Linked DNA regions of Homo sapiens: region 1 is linked to region 2. Evidence: promoter capture Hi-C in human tissues and cell types (Jung and others, 2019). All regions are on one chromosome and are shown on one strand. Each heading gives the region's core, a stretch centred on a gene start or on the middle of the fragment in contact. The rest is flanking DNA. Distances are from core to core; before and after follow the strand shown. Region 1 overlaps TTC7B (tetratricopeptide repeat domain 7B). Region 2 holds the start of NRDE2 (NRDE-2, necessary for RNA interference, domain containing).

Evidence for each region. Contacts are between HindIII fragments. The study calls those that stand out against the background at their distance.
Region 1: a fragment that was not itself captured here is called in contact with the fragment with the promoter of NRDE2 in region 2 in 1 of the 25 tissues and cell types used here (hippocampus).

What each region holds. Positions count from the first base shown.
Region 1 is chr14:90,635,929-90,640,818 of GRCh38, forward strand. The region is part of intron 15 of TTC7B (tetratricopeptide repeat domain 7B); the gene reads right to left. Among named protein-coding and RNA genes, the nearest start is that of TTC7B-AS1, 4.3 kb to the right of the region's middle. RefSeq lists an enhancer at 3,622-4,136. The HindIII fragment of the contact is 5,972 bases long and covers 1-4,890 here.
Region 2 is chr14:90,330,670-90,335,201 of GRCh38, forward strand. NRDE2 (NRDE-2, necessary for RNA interference, domain containing) reads right to left here and starts at 1,272. Exons shown (of 14, transcript NM_017970.4): 1 at 1,172-1,272. The coding sequence starts at 1,235. RefSeq lists an enhancer at 1,026-1,205 and a silencer at 1,356-1,505. The HindIII fragment of the contact is 6,388 bases long and covers 1-3,806 here.

The sequences.
Region 1 (4,890 bases), core at 1,143-3,642, 310 kb after region 2:
GGCCAACATGGTGAAACCCCGTCTCTACTAAAAAATACAAAAATTAGCTGGGTGTGGTGGTGCGCACCTGTAATCCCAAGTACTCAGGAGGCTGAGGCAGGAGACTCACTTGAACCCAGGAGGCAGAGGTTGCAGTGAGCTGAGATTGTGCCTCTGCACTACAGCCTGGGCAACAGAGTGAGACTCCATCTCAAAAAAAAAAAAAAAGTTCAAAAAGAATGGAAAATGATAGTCCAAGTCTATATATGTGTATATGTATACATGTGTGTATACTCACACACATGCACACACATATATGTACAGATATATGGCTACACATATATATGTATGTGGCCATATGTATATCATACAAAATAGACTTTGAAGCAAAATGCCTTGTATCTTACAACATAATCATAAAAGGTTGAATGTACCATAATACACAGCAACTCTAAATTTATATGCAACTAATAGCACAGCTTTAAAATATAGAAAGGAAAAACTGCTATAACGATGTGGTAAAAAAAAAAAAAAAAAAAAGCCAATCCGCCATCCCAGTGGTAGATTTCAACATACCTCCTCTCAACAAATGATAAAGTAGAAAAAACCTCTATAAAAACAAAAAAGCTCTGATAGCATAATTAACAACTCAAACTAATAAAACATATAAAAATTTCCTCAACAAATGCAGAAAACATTCTTTTCAGGCACACATGGAATATTTACAAGAAGTAACCACTGGGCCACAAAATAAGTTCGACCAATTTCAAATGTATATATAGTCTTTAAACATAATTTAATGAAGTTAAAAGCTCATAACAAAAGATAAGTTGAAAAAACTCATATTTGACAATTGTAAAACACAGTTCAAAGACAACTAATGGATCAAAAAGAAAATAACAGAAATTTCAAAATATTTAGAATTATACAATAATAAAAATTTCAAATATTGAAACTTGTAGTTTACAGCTACAGCAGCATTTAGAGGAAAATTTTTAGTCTTAAATGCTTATGTCAGAAAATAAGGCAAAAAATGAATGAACACCCAACTAAGAGATTAAGAAAAAAAAAAAACCCAAAATACAACAAGACAGAACTTAGAGAAAACAGAAGATAGAAAATAATGAAAATGAGAACAGAAATTCATGAAAGAGAAAGTAAACCCACAAGTGAGTTGACAAAAAAGTTACTGGTTGTTTGAAAGGATCCATGTAACAGACAAGTATCTGGCAAGACTATTCAAGAAAAGAAATAAGGTGCATTAAACAATATTAGAATTGAAAAAAACTTAACCAACAAATGCCATATGAAAAATAAACATTATGAATTATCTTATGCCAATAAAATTTAAAATTTAGATGAAATGGACAAATCCTTACATATAATATAATTACAGCTTATACATTATACATAGCTTAATAAAAAAAAAGAAATAGAAGACCTGAATAGACTATAATTATTTTTAAAAAGCATCAGAAATCTTCCCACAGAGAAAAACCCCCCCCCAGCCCCACATGGTTTTACAGATGCATTCTACCAAAACTTAATATTCTCAGAACAAATAATTCCAAAACATGCAAAAAGAAAAAGTACTACTCCAACTCACTTTATGAGGCTGGGCTGACCTTGATGCCAAAATCTGGCAAGAACAGAAGGAGAAAGGAAAAGAATAGGCCTATTTTGCAAATGTACACAAACGCGAAGTTCTCTAAAAAATAAGTAAAGTGAATCCATAAAAAAGCTAATTTATCACAATCAAGTTGGGCTTATTCCAAGTATACAAGGTGAGTTTAACATTTAAAAATATAAATTAATATATAACATTCATAGATGAAAGGAATAAAGTCATATAATCATCTCAATAGATATAGAAAAGGCATTTGATAAAATCTGCTATCGTTTCATCATTAACAAAACAACTCTTAATAAACCAGGAAGAAGGAAACTTCTTTAATCTCTTAAATAGTACCTACAAACAAACCTGTAACAAGCACAATTCTTTTTTTCTGAGGCAGGGCCTCGCTCTGTTGCCCAGGCTGGAGTGTAGTGGTGCAGCCTTGACTTCCTGGGCTCAACTGATCCTCCCACGTCAGCCTTCTGAGTGGCTGGGACCACAGGTACACGCCATCACATCTGGCTACCCTTTTTTTTTTTTTATCTAGAGATGGGGTCTCACAATGTTGCCCAGGCTGGTCTTGAACTCCTGAGCTCAAGCGATCCTCCTGCCTTAGCCTCTCAAAGTGCTGGCATTACAGGCGTGGACCACTGCACCCAGCTAAATGTAATTCTTAATGGTAAAACATTGAAAGAATTTTCTCATTTAACTACTAGGTCCTAACTAGTACAGTAAGACAAGTTAAAAAAATGGAAAGATTAGAGAAAAAGAAACAATTTTAATCACCTCAGAAAAAAAGTCATTATGTATGTAGAAATTCCAAACTGAGTTATATATGTCATTAGACTTATTAAGAATTTAGCTGGGTCAAGAAGAATGTGCAAAAACCAGTTACCTTTCTATACCTTCGCAACAAGTACATAGTAAATTTGATTACAAAAATATTCTGTATACAATAGTGCATATAAAAGCATGAAAAATTTTTTCAGGTAACTAGAAATAAGTCTAGTAAAAAATGGGCAAAATATTTATTAAAAAATTATAAAAACATCCAAAAATACTTGTAAAGGCCTAAATAATTAGGGAGCTATAATGGCTATGGATTAGAAAACCTACTGTCATAAATATACAATTCTCCCCAAACTAAGCTATTAAATTAAACTAATTCCAAAATCTCCAGAAGTTTTCTGTGGAACTGGACGAGCTGATTTGAAAATTTATGTGAAAGTTCAAAGGCCCAAGACAAGCCATGGCAACCTAAAGAGCAGGATACAGAGAGGGACCCACCTTACATATAATGAAGCTATGACAGTGACAAGACAGTGGCAATCACATGGGACTGGCACGATGGCCAATGGAACAAAACAGGAAACTTAGAAACAACTGCGGACATTTGGTTGATGACAAAGGTGGAACTGTGGAGCAACAGGGCAAAGAATCTTTTCAGCGTTTGATGCTGGGACAATTGAATATCCTATGGGGAAAATCACATTGGCTGGCTCATACCATACACACATAAAACAGTCCATTCTAGGTGGGCCCTTAGGTTTCAGTGTGAAAGATAGCACAAGAGAGCTTTTAGAAGATGATTTAGGAGACTACCTTCATGATCTTGGAGAAGGGAAAGGTTTCTTCAACTAGACATAGAAAGTACTGTCCATAAAGGAAACGACTTCTACTTTCTATTACTTTAAAATTAAGAACTTCTGTTTATCAAAAGACATCATGAAGAGAAAGCAAAACAAAATCACAGCTTGGGAGAAGATTTCTGCAACACATATAACTAAGAAAAAGACTTGTAACCAAAATACATAAAGAAATATTATTAAGGAAAAGACCATCCAATAAAAAAGAAGGAATTTCACATACACTTCACAAAAGAGAAAAGGTGAATGACCAATAGACAAATAAAAAGATGTCCAAACTCATTAGTAATGAGGGATGCGCAACTTAAACTCACAAGGTGACATCATTAACCAGCAACCATTCTGCCAAAAATATGAAGTCGGGCAGCACCAAGTATTGGTGTATGGAACCACAGGGCTCTTGAGCGCTGCTGATGGGAGTGTAAACTAATACAACCCCTTTGAAAAACAGTTTGGAATTATTTGGTAAAGTTGAAGATACACAAATCCTACGACCTAACTATTTCACTCATAGAGAAATCCTTGAACGTGTGCACCAGGAGCCCTGTAAAGAAGATTTACAAGCACTGTTCATAATAGCTAAAACCTGAAAACAACCCACGTATCTATTCACAGTAGACTAAGTAAGGAAATCTTAGTGCATTTACACAATAAATACTATTCATTCATGCAAACCAAAGAGTCACTGCTGCGTGCAACAAGGAGGAGCCTCAGGAACGGGATGTTAAGCAATGAACGCAAGCAGCATAAGGACATATTCAGTCTGATTCCATTTTCTACCAAAAGTTTAAAACAGGCAAAACACAATTTTTATTATTTAGGAGTACACGCCGGGTGCGGTAGCTCAGGCCTGTAATCCCAGCACTTTGGGAGGCCGAGGCGCATGGATCGCTTGAGCTCAGGAGTTTGAGCCCAGCCTGGCCAACGTGGTGAAACCCCATCACTACAAAAAATACAAAAATGAGCTGGGTATGGTGGCACACGCCTGTGCTCCCAGCTACTCGGGAGGCTGAAGGATCCATTGAGCTGGGAGTTTGAGAATGCAGTGAGCTGTGACTGTACCACTGCACTCCAGCCTGGGTGACAGAGTGAGGCCCTGTCTCAAAACAAAAAAAAAAGAGAGAGAGAAAGAAAAAGCACAATATACATGGTATAGAAACATGAGAGAATGATTAACATAGAATTTAGAATGGTCATTAACCTGTCAGGTGACAGGCAAAAGGACAGGATACAGAGAAAAATCATTGGCAATATTACACGAAAAATCCATATACCTAGGAAATACATACACATGTTTAAGATACGTGTAAGTATATATGTATAAATAAATCTACACAGGAAATTCACAGGTAATATTAATGTTCTTTTTTCTAAACTACGAATAGGCAAACACATATGTTCATTGTATGATTTTAGATATATTTAATAAACATTCATTTGATTTTATTCCATATTTAAGAACAATTCTAAAGGATTCTAAAATACCATATTTGAACATACTTCAGTAGTATTGGTAGTAATAGTCATAGTAATATGAGTTTCTACCAATTATTACGTGATTACCAGGTACAATGCCTCAAATGCACCAGCTAAATCAATTCTGACCACAACTGTCTGAGATGGATATTTTATTATTCACATTTTGTAGAT
Region 2 (4,532 bases), core at 22-2,521:
AGGCCTGGTGGTGCACACCAGTAGTTCCAGCTATTCATGAGGCTGAGGCAGGAAGTTAAGCCCAGGAGTCTGAGGCGGCAGTGAGTTATGACAGTGCCACTGTACTCCAGCCTGGGCAACAGAGTGAGACCCTGTCTCAAAAAAAAAAAAAAAAATTAGGAGAAACGTTACAGAAAGTGTAGGAACTATATTAGAGGATATAACAGACAGGTAAGACTCAATTGCGCCCTGTCACATATGGCACATAATTTAGAATTACTTTTTTTTCTTTTTTTTTTAGAGACAAGGTCCCCCCACCCCAGGGCAGGATGCAGCGGCACGATCATGGCTCACTGCGGCCTCAAACTTCTGGGCTCAAGCAATCCTCCTACCTCAGCCTCCTGAGGAGCTGATACTATAGGTGTGCACCACCACGCCTGGCTTTTTTTTTAAGAGACAGGAGTCTCGCTATGTTGATCATGATGGTCATGAACTCCCGGGCTCAAACTATCCTTCCACCTACAGGTGTGGGCCACTGCTCCTGGCCAGGATTAATTACTTCTTAAATGAACTATGTACCCCAATTTTGAACAATGCAGCTCTGCTGGAAATGTCTGGGACTTAAGTAAAATGTGTAAAGCCATAACCTGATACACACTAGGCCCTCAAGAATAAATGTTAGTTATTTTCACTGGGTGCTGTGCCCCTCCAGAGAGAAACTGATTAGGTTTTGGATACTAATCCCCTAGCTCTAGGCCGCTAAGTAATACCAATCTAATAAGCATTTCAGAAATAAGTATAACAGGAAAGGAAGTAATATGTAATAAAAACATTCTGCATTTGCATCAAGGGTTTCCTCGAGATGTCGAGTATCATTATTCCCAATTTAAAGATGAAGTAACTGAGGCTCGAAAAGAAGAACAGGACCTAACAACATCGTACAGAAGTCCCAGCTCCAGGGCATCTGCTGGTCTTTCTCCACCCCTCCATAACTCTACAACCTTGGTCCAGAACAGGCCTCTGGGCCCCAGACCTCGGAGGGATTGAGCCTTTCCCAGAAGGCTTTGCAGCGCCGCGGAGAACTCTGGGATACAAATGGATACACAAATCCAAAGCAAAAGTCTAGACCTGGGCCCGAGAAACAGCCTCTTAAGCCCCCCAGGTGCCTTCTTCGGCTCGTTTGTGTGCTTACCTTTCCTGGAGCTCCCGCCATCGGGAGCCTCACTAAGCCCCGCAAAGGCTGGGAACAGCGCCATGACCACAGGCCGTACCTCCGTTCTTCTCTATAGGGATGGCGCCGGCGAGCGAGCGCCGGTCTGAGGACCCCTGCCGTCGCGGTGCACTCTGGGAAATGTGGTTTTCGCGGCGCTCTCTGGGGCTTGACCCCGAAGCGGGAGGGGCGGGGCCCAGAGAGGAGGGTCGTCAAGGGACTGGGGCGCGGCGGGGCAGGGAGAGGCAGGGCAAAGCAGGGTGGGGCGGGGCCAAGGGGGGCGGAGCGAGGAGTGACGGGTTCCTAGTGGTTGGGACCCTGTGAGAACCGGAACTGCGAAAACCGGAGAAGGGAATTGTTGACCGCGAAAGGGACTAAGGAAATTGGGATTCCAGTTCGACCCCTAAATTCACACCATCCTTGCTAACTGGGTCAACTTAAACGCTCTAAGCATTACTTTCCTTATCTGCAAAATATTGAGAAGATTAAATGAACATATTTATAAAGGGCCTAGCATTGAGTCCGGCCCATGAAAAGCACTTAATATGTGTTAGCTATTATGTGAATTACGACTGCAAGTTCGGCTCAAAGTCATGTGAGATATCCGAACTTCAATCAGGTTACCATATTAAATACCCCAGAACAAGGAAAAATGGAAAGTCCCATCAAGTTCAAGGGTCTTTGATAGTTAGGAAATACCTGTCTGTGAAGCATTCTTGACCCCGGTTCCTCCCACCCAAAATCTAATCACACTTGCTACCAGAAATATAGAGAGTAAAGGAACAACTTAGAAGACTTTGTACTACCAAGAAACAATTAGCCAAATCTAGAATATGGGAAATTATAGAAAACAACCGTGCTTCCTTAACATATCAAGGGCTTTAAGAGGGCAGGAGATTGTAATAGATACGAAGATCTTACAGACACATCAAGCAAATACAACATATTTGTGGCCTCATTATAATTCTGATTGGACAAACTGTAAAAAGACCTTTTTAAGATAGATGGAGAAATAAGAAGGTAGGCAGAGTACAAGCAATTCACAAGTAATTCTTGTGAATTCTGTTAGATGTACTAAAGTACTTATGTCACTGAGGTGACCCTTATTTATTTATTTTGAGACAAGGTCTCCTTCTGCCACCCAGGCTGGAGTGTAGTGGTACGATCTCTGCTCACTGCAGCTTCGAACTCCTCGATTCAAGCAATCCCCTCACCTCAGCCTCCCAAGTGGCTGGAACCACAGGCATACACCACCATGTCTGGCTTAATTTTTTTTTTTTTAATAGAGACAGGGTTTCACCATGTTGCCCAGGCTGGTCTCGAACTCCTGGGCTCAAGCGATCTGCCCCCCTCTGCCTCCCAAAGTGCTGGGTGCCTGTGCCTGAGCACCCCCCAACCCAGCCTGAGATTACTTTTTAAAGTTCTTATATATTAGAGATATATACTGAAATATTTGCAAGTGAAAATAGATAGGTAAATGAAGATATATTTATTGGGATCCTAGGGAGTTAAAGATCTTTAGTTAGGAAATACATTATAAACCAGAGATGCAAATGTAATCATCTAATCAAGGAATGGATGGACTCTGATGAAGTCTGCAGACCTGCATAAGAATTAGGTTCTATGAGTCCAAAATAGACACCCTTAATGCTTTGAAGTCCCTGGCAGAGTACTTACAAAAAGGAGCTTAGTATGACAATAGGGGCAGTAATTCCTGTATGTCTTCAACTTTAAATCTCAGGTTCTGCCAAAATCTTTGACTCTAAGTTACCTCAATTAATTGGGGCAGCATTTGTCTTTCTTAGCAGATCACTTCAGGTAACTGGGATGGAAATAGTCTATCCCAATGCCTCCTATCTTTCCACCCCAGAAAAGTAAGAATTAATATGGAAGTTTTAAGAAATTAAAACCATAATAATAATGTTTCTGTAATACAAAGGAATCTGGGTATACTAGGTATATTGTGTACTTACAAATGTATAAGAGAATGTTGCTCAAGAGACCCTCCTCATAAGAACAACTGAAAGTGTATAATCAAGTAACTGATACAGACTCCTGGTTTTAAGTTAAAATCTTTTTGTGTTTGTTTTGTTTTTGAGACAAGATCTCCTCTCTCGCCCAGGCTGGAGTGCAGTGGTGCGATCATGGCTCACTCCAGTCTCGACCATCTGCCTCAGCACCCCGAAGTGCTGGGATTATAGGTGTGAGCCACCATGGCCGGCAGTAAATTGAAATCTTAATGAGGTTTAAGCAGTTTCAGGATATCCAAGAGAATCTAAAGCTCGCCATATTTGTAAGTGTAATTGGTTAGCTTTATAAGAATAATGGGGTCCTATTGCAGGAGCATGAGGGAGGCTGAAGATTCCATTTCGAGGCAGCTCTGAGCTCACGAAATAGACACCATGAGCAAAGCTCACCCTCCCTAGTTGAAAAAAGCTTTTGGACAAGAAGTTAGAAGCCTTAGAATGAGTATAAATAATGGCTGTTCAACAATAATAATAACAATAGGAACAAACTACTGATACATACAACATGAATGAATCTCAAAATTGGTATGCTGGGTATAAAAAGCCAGGCACAAAGAGTGTTTACTGTGTTATTCTCTTTATACAAAATCCTAGAAAATACAAATTAATATATAGTGACAGAGAGTGGATCGGTGTTTCCCTTGCTCTGGGAACGAAGAGAGGGATATTCCACAGAGGGGTGTGGAGAATGTTTTGGGCTTGATGGAAATATTCTGACTCTTGTTTATGGTGGGGGTATCACAGGTGTGTAACTGACCAAGTTCTTAAAAGCTTAAGAACAAACAAGGGTTTTCAATTTGTTTTTAATACATTGGATGCCAATCTTTTAAACACTGTGTCTGCAAATTTTTTTCTGGAAAGAGTCACATAAAACATATGGTATTGGCTGGATGCAGTGGCTCACACCTGTAATCCCAGCACTTTAGGAGGCTGAGGCGGGTGGATCACTTGAGGTCAGGAGTTTGAGACCAGCCTAGCCAACATAGTGAAACCCCCGTCTCTACTAAAAATACGAAAATTAGCCGGGAGTGGTGGCAGGCACCTGTACTCCCAGCTACTCAGGAGGCTGAGGCAGGAGAATTGCTTGAACTTGGGAGGCAGAGGTTACAGTGAGCCAAGATCGTGCCACTGCACTCCAGCCTGGGCAACAGAGCATGACTCCACCTAAAAAAAAAAAAGACATGTGGTCGCAACCACACTGAAATTTGAATTTTATACAATTTTCACATGTCATAAAATGTTATTTGCCTATTTTTTCAACATTTATATACGTAAAAATCATTCTTAATGCATAGGTCATACCAATTGGCAGTGGG